Linked DNA regions of Homo sapiens: region 1 is linked to region 2. The links are contacts of gene promoters, found by promoter capture Hi-C in human tissues and cell types (Jung and others, 2019). All regions are on one chromosome and are shown on one strand. Each heading gives the region's core, a stretch centred on a gene start or on the middle of the fragment in contact. The rest is flanking DNA. Distances are from core to core; before and after follow the strand shown. Region 1 overlaps MACO1 (macoilin 1). Region 2 holds the start of RHD (Rh blood group D antigen).

Region 1 (6,777 bases), core at 1,326-3,825, 170 kb before region 2:
ACGGGCACATACCACCATGCTTGGCTAATTTTTTTTTTTTTTTTTTTGTAGAGATGGGATGTTGCTATGTTGCCCAGATTGGTCAACATAGCAAGATCCTGGGCTCAAGTGATCCTCCTACCTTGACCTCCCAAAGTGTTGGGACTACAGGCATGAGCCACCACATCCAGCCAGTTTTAATTTCTAATACAGTAAATATTGATAGATATAATCCATATAAACCAAATCTCTGTGATATTCTCAATCTTTTTTTTTTTTTTTGAGACAGAGTTTCGCTTGTTGCCCAGGCTAGAATGCAATGGTACGATCTCGGCTCACCGCAATCTCTGCCTCCTGGGTTCAAGTGATTCTCCTGCCTCAGCCTCCCAAGTAGCTGGGATTACAGGCATGCGCCACCATGCCCAGCTAATTTTTCATTTTTAGTAGAGACGGGGTTTCTCCAAGTTGGTCAGGCTGGTCTCAAACTCCTGACCTCAAGTGATCCACCTGTCTCAGCCTCCCAAAGTGCTGGGATTACAGGTGTGAGCCACAGTGTCCAGCCTCAATCATTTTTAAGAGTGTAAAGAGATCCAGAGACAAAAAAATTTTTTGACAAAAAAAAAAAAAACAGAAATTTGTGTGTGAGCCTTAACATAAAATAAACTGGAACCACTGCTGCATTCTGCAGGCACCTCCTTGTATAAAATCCAAAAAAGGGGAGCAGGCTGAGAAGACCAAGCTGTTCTATATTTCTTTTTTCTATTCTAGGCCTCCTGCATACTGCAAAGGGAACCTTTCTAGTGTCAATTACACACACACACACGCGCGCGTACATGTGCAGCCACTGCAATGACAAATCTAACAGTGTGAAATATGCCCTTTTTTGTTTGTTTATTTTTTTCAGAGACAGAGTCTTACTCTGTCTCCTAGGCTGTAGCGCAGTGGTGTGATCATAACTCACTGCAACCTCCAACTCCTGAGCTCAAGCGATCCTCCCACCTCAGCCTCCCAAGTAGCAAGGGTGACAGGCAAGAGCCACCATGCCTGGCTATTTTTTTTCTTTAAAAATAAATAAATAAATAAATAGGGTATCTTATGCCTTTCACTAAGGTGTAAGTACTTTGTACTATTTTTGTGACTTTTCTGTTTAATTAAATCTAAAATTATTTCAAAATGAGAAGTTAAAAAGAAGCAACACATACTTGTTATTAAAAAGGTAATATAATGTATAATATAAAAGCCCTTAGTAGTCCTGCCCCAAGATGATTGCTGTTATATAATTCATAAATATAATTTGCTTTTTCTATATAAACAAATGTGTTTCTTTCTTAACAAAAACAGGTTTCTGTTTGACATGTCCACTTCTTTTTTTTTTAGTTTTTTATTTTATTTTATTTTTCTTGAGACAGTCTCACTCTGTTGCCTAGGCTGGAGTGCAGTGGCACAATCTCGACTCACTGCAACCTCTGCCTCCTGGGTTCAAGCAGTTCTCCCAAGTCTCCCAAGTAGCTGGGATTACAGGCGCATGCTACCACGCCCAGCTAATTTTTATATTTTTAGTAGAGACGGGGTTTCGCCACGTTGGCCAGGCTGGTCTTGAACTCCTGACCTCAGGTGATCCACCCGCCTCGACCTCCCAAAGTGCTGGGATTACAGGCGTGAGCCACGGGGCCCAGTCATGTCCACTTCTTTATATAGAATTTCCCTTATCCATTTTAGCAGCAACATAGAGTTCCACATAGAATTTACACTGTTCTCTGCAGTCTCCTAACTTCTGTTTCTGTACTCTTTCAATAGTGCCTTGCAGCTTTTTAGTTCTCTATTCCTCAGGTTTGTTTCCTATAAAATGGCAATACCTACTCTGCCTATTTCACACTTGTGAGGATAAAATGAGATAATATGAAAACATTTGGAAAAGTTACAAGTAAGACAGAAATGTAAGGTGTGATTAAGCAGATTATTACTATCAATTATATGAAGCATAATTTTGATTCCCTTATGAAATGAATTTCTAATGTTTATATAATGTTAACAGGTTTTTTTAGAGCCTGTGAGTTGTTTTCTCTCTCCGCCTATGCTTCTTCACCCCTCCCCTTCCTCAACCCCATAGACTCCACACTGTTAAAAGTATTCTTGAAACAGAAATTCTAAAACTCACCACCTGCATTAGGTTACAATACCTGTCCTTGATATCTCTGTGGTCTATACAGACCTTTATAAAAATGTTATACTACAAAACCGTGAAAACCTTTTTTAGCGATTTCCATTCTAGATTTTTTTTTTCCTTTAAATTGGGGGCTGATTATGGTGGCTCACGCCTATAATATCAGCACTTTGGGATTATATTAACCACCACGCCCAGCCAATTCTCTTTTTTTGACACAGGGTCTTGCTCTATTGCCCAGGCTGGAGTGTAGTGACACGATCATGGCACACTGCAGCCTCAAACTCCTGGGCTCACGTGATCCTCCCGCCTCAGCCTCCCAAGTAGCTGGGACTACAGGAATGTGACACCACACCCAGCTAATTTTTTTGAATTTTAGTAGAGATGAGGTCTCGCTATGTTACCTAGGCTAGTCTTGAACTCCTGGACTCAAGCAATCCTCTTGCCTTAGCCTCCCAAAGTGCTGGGGTTACAGCCATCACACCCGGCCAAAAATTCTTATTACATCTGAGCAAGACGACTCAAGCCTCAGACAGTATCTCTCTTTTCTGAGACAGGAATCCTTACTTTGGACATGAACATAGTATTCATTCTCTTTAATGTTCAACTATTCTTGCTACAAGATAGGCAAAGTACTGATTTTAGTACTCAGCTATTTATTTGGTTTTTAAAAGTGTTGGGTGGGTGCGGTGGCTCATGCCTATAATCCCAGTACTTTGAGAGGTCAAGGTGAGTGGCTCACTTGAGCCCAGGAGTTCAAGACCAGCCTATACAACACGGCGAGACTCCATCTTTATAAAAACGCAAAAACGCAAAAAAAAAAAAAAAAAAAAAAAGCCAGGCATGGTAGTATATGCCTTTGGTCCCAGCTACTCGGTCAGCTGAAGTGTAAGGATCTCTTGAACCCAGGAGATGAAGGATACAGTGAGCTGTGATCTCGCTGCTGGACTCCAGCCTGGGCGACAGAATGAGACCCTGTCTCAAAAAAAAAAAAAAAAGTGTTTTGAAGATGAACAACGTAACAATATGATTCAAAAACAGAATGAGATTATTTCTAGCCACTCCTCTGTGCTGAGTGGGAGATCGGTCCTAAACAGCTCAAACTCATCAGTGATATGAACAGATATATGAAAGTGGAGTAGTCACACCATTTTAATCACTAAATGCAAAAGCTCTGAAAAAGAGAAGGCAACAGAGGAGATGGGGTGAGGGATACATTATTTTTGGTGCCACAATCCCATGACTCAAAGTGGGCATATCATCCTTAAAGGCAGCAGAGAAAAAAATATAAAGCAATCAAGGTCAGTACTATGACTGTCTTCAAAGGCCAGGGAAGACAAGTGCCTTGGAAGGCTCATCAGCTGAGACAATTTGATGTCGGTTAAATGTCAAATTAAAGATACAGAGCCTCAATATTCTCTAAAAGTTGATTAACTTTTTTCAAGCTTCCATTGCCAGGATGCAAGGTGAGAGGCTTTGAAAAGTCACTACTTAAGCATCTGAAGAAATCCACAGTGGAAAAAGTCTAACAAGGATATGTGTATCTACTGTTGTATGTACCATCCTACTTATGCAGCTTGCTGGACAGCCAACTTCTTTTTCTTCTGGACTTAATTCTTGAGCAAGAGCCAAGTAAAATAATTATGCCCAAATCTAGTAAGCCTGGGGATAAACTAATCAGTATATCTGAAGAGCACACTAAATTTTATGAAGAAAAGTAACCTAATTACAGTATTTCACTTAACTATGTTTGTGAAATTTCTACTTGCCCTCCAAACTCCACAAGATGGTAGCCTAGAAACAGATAAAACAAAGTGCACTTTATATACATAAAACCCCAAAGGGTTAACAGTATCAGTGGGGAGATCTGGGAGAAATGGCCAAAGAAAAAGATTCTAGGAACATAAATGCTTACAGAACATGGACTGGGTCCATGAGATATATACAAGCATATAACTAGTAAGAAAATGTAAATAATTATTTGTTAAACCTACCATTAAGATCAATCTCTAAATCTAGTGAGGTTCAAGAGAGGCCATGAGGAATCGATGTGAAGAAAAAGGAGACTATCAATGATAAAACAGGAAGCTTTTAAGCAAATAATGTGAAGTGAATCACGTTCTCTCCTGTTCCCCTCCTCAACCCAGCAGCAATTTAAAGGGATTTTCAAAACACCTAATGAAACTAAACTGCCAAGACTGCTCAGACAGGAAGAATCATAATGAAAGTTGGAGGAAAGTGCTTTTTCATCCCAGTGTGGCCGATTTTTAAAGTGTATTTTGTGAAAACCACAAATAGAAGAGTTTAGCTAATAAACACTTCACTGCACAGGTTAGTGAAAACATTTCAATTTCTCCTTCCCCAACACTCCTCTAAAACAATACAGAATCTATCACTTTCGTGCCAGGTCCAGGATTGTTAAAGTTAAAGCCTACCAAGATTACCAAAATGCTTTTAGGCTATGAGATTGCAACACAGGTATCTGGGGTTTCAGTTGCAGAACACATGTACAATCAAGGCAGCCAAGGGTCATGACAGCCTGCAGTGACTTTAATAAGCATAGCCCAAAGGAGTCTAAAACTAGGCTTAGAAAACATCATTAAGGAGGCAGAAAAAGCAGTCAAATGAAACCTCTGGAGATCAGATGTAGACAAGGGTCTGAAAAAGGAAATTGGGAAGTTGAGAAGAATGCAAAATTTAATCACTTTAAAAAGTCACTTTTGAGGAGCCCCAAGGACCAGAGAATTTTTCTCTGAAATAAAAATGGGAAATAATAACATATACACCAGTGCTGAGTTCTTAGTCCTAGTTTTAAGGCATTAAGCTGCAAAAATATGACAGTCAGGTACAATACTGCACTGCCTAAGCTTCACACAGCACTACAAGCAGAATCCAGTACATGAAGACAGGAAGCAGTCTTAAATACACAGTGAAAGGGTACTTCCTTCAGCCACCAGTAACACAGATATAAAATCATTCCCAGAAGCTTAAAACATATACCTTACTTAAAATTCGTATTATATTTACTTGCATAAATAACCATTTAACTGTAGCGATTTGGAATATATGTATACTTTAAACATAAATGTTTCTGCCTCCTTCTTCTACTTACCACATCTTATCTCCTCATTTTTATATTATAAAGTCAGTAATTCTCTGAGGGAAGGGAGTGGAAAGTATGGCAGGGTGAGAGGTAGGGGTAAACCATACAGAATCCCCTTAAGGCTTTTAAAAACTACATAGTACCCTAACCTCACCTCACCTGGAAAATCACTGCCTGCAATGAGATATTACTATCGGGAGTGTCTGGTGCACATGTGTCTAGGCAGACACAAGGAGAGAACCCAGCCCAGAAAACCAAAGGACCTTAGAAATATAAGAGTTAGGTACTTAATAACTTATGTTCATAATTTTTAAAGTACTTTCATATCTATCTCATTTGAGATAGAAAAGACTCCCTCATATAGTGGCAACTGTCTACTTTATCATAAAATAGCACAGAGCAAAATACAGCTGTTAATGTGTCAGATGAACCACTAAAACAGTAAGCTAAAATTTAGCACAACAGAAATATTTTTACTTGAACAGAACTTAAAGTTCTTTGGAAACTCTAAACCACTGTACAAATTTAAGATGGTATTACTACGGCCTACTAGACTGTAAACTCCTTGAAGACAATGAGCCATGTGTTATCCTGTATCCTCCGCAATTCCCTGAACAACGTAGGCACTTCATGAATGAAATGGACTAGCTTATATTCATTTATTAATTTACTCACTCAACATTTATTGAACACTGAATGTCGACTCTGTCAGGCTCTGGGCTGGGTCAGATTTTTTTAAAACTACATCGAACTTTAGCCCCTAGTAAGATGAAAAGATCACTATTCCTATTTCCTTTCTCCTATTTTTAATTATTAACTGGACTAAAATATTTCTATAGCATGTTTCACTTTTCAAATGATGTTTTATATGTATAAATGCAGATTACATTAACATAATGTCTAAAATTAATTTTCCTTGCATCTCACCCCGAAACAGAATTCCAAGACAGCCATGATACTCACAATAAATGATATCATTTGACAGTCACCTCAGTAACAGTTGTTGGACTGCAGCCCATGATTTAAAAGTGAGTCCACAACAGGATTTTTTAAAGCAAGACCAAACAGCAACTGACCCTTTGTTTTGGCTACTCAACTTTTGTTTACAGTTGCACCAAATCTTACAGTATTTCCTGCCTCCTTAAAAAATTAACCACACGTTAAACTGTGATAGCAACAACATGGTAAATAGTATCTGTAAACTACACTAGGATTTATAAAGCATTTCACAAACTGTACATATCTCCTTTAGTCCTCAAAACTCATTTGAAGGTGGGAGAACTGGGGCTCAAAGCTGTGGATGCCCTGTCTGCCTAAAGCAGCAGAGCTGGGATTTTGAGTCTGATCCTGGGTCTCCTGATTCCTGCAGTCCAGTGCGCTTTTCACCACAGCTGCCTCCTTCCTATGCCAAGGCTCAGAAAGTTGTACAGACTGAGAACATGAAAATAGTAAGTCCATGAAAGGTTTGGCTATGAAACAGTAGACAGTGGTTATCAAAACTGTCAACACGGCCCCAGAAAAAAAACAAGGC
Region 2 (5,909 bases), core at 2,290-4,789:
CAGGACTGAATTCAATTAAGTGGATTGACAGATTAAGTTACCTAAGTTTAACTCAACAAACTTTCACAAAATGAAGTAATGGCTTAACCAACTCGTGCAGAAAAACACAGATTGGAAGCATAGAAATAATGGCAGTCAAGTGAACAAAAGGGAAAAGGCAGAGTGAAACTTCTCCTCGTACAAGCTGTCAGTCACATTCGAGATTTAAAACATGTTGATCTAATCAGATCTGACAAGTCAATCAAGACAATTTCAAATTATCAAGAAGACTCTGAGGAGTGAATTTTCATCCACTATCGTCAACTGTAGCAATGGACCCTGCCTGGAGATTGACACCATTATGATTAGTAATTTGAAAATATTATATATTTCATTTTGATCTCTTTCAATTTTCCTAATTTGTATGTATTTATTGTAACATACAAAATATATTAATGTAGTAATACTTAAAGTAATACTTAAAGTGTAATATATAACCATGGTACATGCTCAAAAAATCGTGTGTACACCATCAGAATGTTGAAGTCCTCAGGTCAATACTACACTACAGCCTCCACGCTGGTCTGGTGTCTCAAGCCATGCCCCTTTCCCTGTGCCCAACACCAGCCCTGGCATGGCTTCCTCCATGACCCAAACCCAAACTTGTCTCGCTGCTGTTTACTATTCGGACCTCAGACTGAAGCCAAACTTCGTATGCAGCCCAGTGAGTCTGCCACCCGCTGCTTCCCTCTTTATTTTTATTTATTACTATTATTTTTTTCAGACAGAGTCCCACTCTGTCACCCAGGGTGGAGTGCAGTGGCATGTTCTCAGCTCAGCAACCTCTGCCTCCTGGGTTCAAGCAATTCTCCTCCCTCAGCTTCCCAAGCAGCTGGGACTACAGGCACGTGCCACCACATCCGGCTAATTTTTGTATTTTTAGTAGAGACAGGGTTTTACCATGTTGGCCAGGCTGGTCTCGAACTCCTGACCTCAGGTGATCTGCCTGCCTTGGTCTCCCAAAGTGTTTGGGATTACAGGCATGAGTCACCACACCCAGTCCCTGCTCTCCTCTTTGTTTTTTTGTTGTTCTTGTTGTTGTTTTTGTTGTTTGGTTTTTTGAGATGAAGTCTCACTCTGGCGCCCAGGCTGGAGTGTAATGGCCTCCCAAGTAGCTCGGATTATAGACGTGTGCCACCACACCCAGCCAGTTTTTATAATTTTAGTAGAGATGCGGTTTTGCCATGTTGGCCAGGCTGGTCTCGAACTCCTAACCTCAGGTGATTCTCCAGCCTTGGCCTCCCAATGTGCCGGGATTACAGGCGTGAGCCACGTCGCCCGGCCCTTTGTTTCCCCTTTTAGGCTCCAGGGCAATGCAATGTTAAGCCCAGGCTCAGTCTGCTCTATTGTGTGTGCACGCCATGGCACCCACTGTGCCCTCACTTGGATGACCCTCCTTTGTCCCACAGGTAATTCCTACTGAGCCTTCAAGACCTGGCTGGGCAGTCACCTCCCTCCCCTGACACCATCGTCTCCCCTGCCTGGGTTGTGGACCCTCCTCTGAGCTTCCGTATAAAGTGAGTTTCTGAGGACATTTTGTACCTACGTTAGTAGCACGGTGCAGGGGTAAAGAACATGGACCCTAGAGTCAATCTACAGGGTTGGAATAGTGGCTGCTAACCTACTGGGTTATATGACAAAGACTCAAGCCCACTGTAAAATGGGGCCATGATGCATAATGGTTAAGTGTAAGGAAACTAAATCCAGGGTGGCTAAATTTAAATACGCTGTGCTATTGCTAGCTGAGCGACCGTGGGCAAATTACTCAACATCCATATGCCTAGTTTCCTCATATGAAAAACGAAGATCATAATAGTACCCACCTCATTGGGTTATTGTGAGGGTTCAATGTAAAGCATGTAGAATAGTGCCTGGTACATAGTAAGTGCTCATAAATATCAGCTCTAATCATCATGAGTCTGGATCCCACATTGGATGTCATACATGGTTGAATGAATGGAATGCATTGAATTGTATTGGATTGAAATGAATTAGAGTAAATTGAAGTGAATTAAAATTGTGCCAGCTCTTGTTTGTCTGTCACTGAAGGCTCCTCTCTGGGCCAGCACCTTAAATGGTATAAGGGCTTCCCTCCCTAAGTCCTACTTGTCACTGCCATGGCCCCCAGGATGACTTCTCTTTGCTTCCAGTTAACTAGCCGTTCATATCAACCTAGGAACAAGCAAGGACTCAACCAGGCTCAAGCTTCAACTTTGTCTCAGGGACATTCTTCAAGGAGGCCCTGTCTATTATCAACAACCTATCAGCCCACTGAGATGCCTGAAACTCATTTCAATATTTTTAAAAAAGCAAAGTCACACCATTGTGGACATCTGTCTTATTTACAGTTGTCTCATCACAGTCTGGGAATATTTTTAGCTGAATATAAAATAACCATCATCCTACCCTCCCCTTCAGCCATACCTTCTGGTTCTGGATTTATAGACAGCATGCAGACTTCCCAGCCCCTAAGTGAGAAGAAAGCTGGGGTCGGTGGGGGTGGGGGTGGGGGGTAGCAACAGGCTGAAGCTTCCAAAAGAAAACTAGTATAGATATGAGCAAGAGAGCTGGGCACAGTGCTTCACGCCTGTAATTCCAGCACTTTGGGAGACTGAGGCTGGAGGATCGCTTGTGTCCAGGAGTTTGAGACCAGTCTGGGAAACACAGGGAGACCCACATCTCTACCAAAAAAAAAAAAAAAAAAAATTAGCCAGGCATGGTGGTGCCCTCCTGTGGTCCCAGCTTCTTGGGAGGCTGAGGTGGGAAGATTGCTTGAGACTAGGAGGTCAAGGCTGCAGTGAACCATGATCATGCCACTGCACTTCAGCCTGGGCAACAGAGTGAGACCCTGCCTCAAAAAGAAATAAGAAATGAGCGAGAGGCCACAAAAAGGAAACAAAAACCAAAAACCCAACAACATGAAATTGCTTGCATAAGATAGCTGCACTTGTATCCCCTAAATCTATAAAAATAAAAAAATTCCTTGCCACTGAGGAGAGAGAAGGGGAAGCAGAGAAGCAGAGAATTATGAAGACCATTTGGTAGAGGGAATTTGAGGAACACCAAAGAGGATGCCTCTCACTGTGCTGAAAAATCAAGGCAGGCTTCACAGAAGAGGGCATGCCCAGGCTGCTTCTAAAGGAAAGCTTACATTGTTGGCTGAATTTCGGTGCAATCTACGGAAGAAGATGGGGGAATCTTTTTCCTTGGGATTTTGTAGAAAGGAACATCTGTGCCCCTGGAGAACCACAGGCCTCCCCCGCCCCTGCCCCTGCTATTTGCTCCTGTGACCACTTTTCCAATGAACTCTCACCTTGATAGGATGCCACGAGCCCCTTTTGATCCTCTAAGGAAGCGTCATAGTGGGTAAAAAAATAGAAGAGGAGAATGAGAGCTGCTTCCAGTGTTAGGGCCCAGAGGGGCAGGCAGCGCCGGACAGACCGCGGGTACTTAGAGCTCATCCTGTGTCCGTCTCTGTGCAGGGGTTCCACCAGCACCAGGCATCACCCCTCTCTCCAACACCTACTTGAGGGCTTGAGGGAGCGATAGGGGAGACACCCGCCAAAGGCCTTATCTCAGGCTGCAAGGCTGGTTGTGCTGGCCTCTCTATGGAGTTAACACGGAAGCAGAGGGACTATGATGGGGAGGGGAGGAAATGTATGTTTTCCAATATTGTCATTCATTCAACAAGTTGCTGTGTTCCTGTTACAGGTTCCTGCTGTGCTCAGTTTGAAAGAGGGCATTCTATTCCTTTGACACCCAAACATAATCCTTCTTTACTCTGTACTTCAGTCATCTTCAGCATATCCTTGTAAGAAAAGCAAGGAATGGATCAATACTCCTATTTTATGAATAAGGAAACTGAAGCTCAGAAGAGGCTTTCTTTTTAAAACCTTACTACATGACAGAGAGGGCACCCAGTGAGCTCTTAACAACAATGTATTGAATGAGAATGAATGAAAGCAAAGAATGGAGCTGAGCCCTGGGGAGGATACAGATAGGACCCACGTAGAACTGACTCCTCATAGTTACACAGTTGAAATTACTTACATTTGAATTTGTATTTAAATCTATGTGTTTCTAAGCATTTTAAGGGGGGGTGGCAGAAGAGAAAGGAGATGTGGGTTTGGCTCTAGTAAAAACCTGGAGGGGATCCTGATCCAGCCTTAGGGTGAAGTTGCTCTACCTCTGGTCACCTCCTCACAGGGCAGCCCAGGACTCTGCCTGGGGCACTACAGTGCATTTGAGGAAGGCCACCAGCCTCAGCATCCCCATCCCTCAGTACTGGACAGTCCAGTCCCCTGGCATGAGCTTTAGGGGGCTTGGGACTTAGTTCTAACCCTGCAGCCAACTTCCCCTGTGCTCCCATCCATGTGCCTGGCAGAAGGTCTGGTACATGGTAAGTGTCGAGGAAGGAAGGAAGAGAGAGAGGGATGTAGAGAGGGAGGAAGAGATGAAAGAGGAAGAAAAGAAGGAAGGAATTGGAGTTTCCTTATTTTCTACAATGGTCCCAGCCACTGGCCACTGAGTGTAAACTGAATGTGTGGAGCCCCAGAGAATAAAGCCAGGGCCAGGAGCTGCAGGGAGGTGGAAAGTGGATACTTTATTGACCATTACAGTTGTCCACTGAAATACTCATGAGGTAGTGAGCACCCTGTCACTAGAGGAATGCAGAAATGTCTTGAAAACAATTCCTATGTAGATCAGAGGAGATTTTAATCACCCAGTCGAATCCTGTCATTTTGTTTTTAGACCAAGAAACCAAGACCCAGAGAGGTCATACCTAAGGTCATCTAGTCACTTGGCATCAGTCACTTCTTGCTCAGTGCAGCTTTATTTACAGAAGGAAAAAACTGAGACTAACCTAAATGTCCACTAGCAGGGGGTTGGTTAAGAAAACTACAGGACATGAAACTTGCTACCAATATGATGGTTCTGAACATATGCAGGAAAAGCAAGAGGAAAACGCTTTTATCAAAACTGACACAGAGGATAGACTGTTTAGTGAAAAAGCAAGTTATATAACAGCATGTACAATATATTCCCACTCTTATAAAATAATATGTTAGCACACGCATAGAAAAAAGTTGGCTGCAAACCACTAAAACATTGGTTAATTTTGCTTTATACATTTTCAGAGCTAACTGTTATTAAGTACTTGCTAGGCACCATTCTAAGTACTTTACATATATGAACTTAGTTCATGACACTGGGATGGGTACTATTAGGATTTATTACAAATGAGTGAACTGAGGCACAGAAAAACTAAGTGACTTGCTCAAGGTCACAGGGCTAGTAAGCAGTAGAGCTGGGATTTAAACCCAGGCAGCCTAACTTCAGGACCTGGGTGTTTGACCACTTAACTGTAGCCTAGATCAGGGGTCCCCAAGCTTTTTGGCACCAGGGACGGGTTTTGTAAAAGACAATTTTTCCATGGACCGGGGTGAGGTTGGAGGGATGGTTTGGGGATGAAACTGTTCCACCTCAGATCATCAGGCATTAGTTAGATTCTCCTAAGGAGCACGCAACCTAGATCCCTCTCATGCGCGGTTCCCAATAGGGTTTGTGCCCCTATGAGAATCTAATGCCGCTGCTGATCTGACAGGAGGCGGAGCTCAGGCGGTAGTGCTCGCTGGCCTATCCCTCATGCTGTGCGGTCAGGTTCCTAACGGGCCACAGCCTGGGGGTTGGGGACCCCCAGCCTAGATTACTTCTAAGTCTTCTTCCAATTCTAAAAGTCTAGGAACATGGGCTTCTAAGCCCTCTGCTACCCCAACAGCAATTAAGGGGGAGGGTACCCCAATCCCCAGAGGTCAGAAGTCTCCATTCCTCTCACAATTGCCTCCTGGTTCTCATTTCTGCTCTATTTC

What was found. Contacts are between HindIII fragments. The study calls those that stand out against the background at their distance.
Region 1: a contact is called between a fragment that was not itself captured here and the fragment with the promoter of RHD in region 2, in 1 of the 25 tissues and cell types used here (dorsolateral prefrontal cortex).

Annotation. Positions count from the first base shown.
Region 1 is chr1:25,433,501-25,440,277 of GRCh38, reverse strand. All of the region lies in intron 1 of MACO1 (macoilin 1), which reads right to left. Among named protein-coding and RNA genes, the nearest start is that of MACO1, 6.0 kb to the right of the region's middle. RefSeq lists an enhancer at 4,360-4,449. The HindIII fragment of the contact is 4,093 bases long and covers 529-4,621 here.
Region 2 is chr1:25,270,139-25,276,047 of GRCh38, reverse strand. RHD (Rh blood group D antigen) reads right to left here and starts at 3,539. Exons shown (of 10, transcript NM_016124.6): 1 at 3,353-3,539. The coding sequence starts at 3,500. LOC105376882 (a long non-coding RNA gene) reads left to right here and starts at 1,424. Exons shown (of 2, transcript XR_947099.3): 1 at 1,424-1,556. It also overlaps a transcript of RSRP1 not described here. The HindIII fragment of the contact is 5,221 bases long and covers 2,878-5,909 here.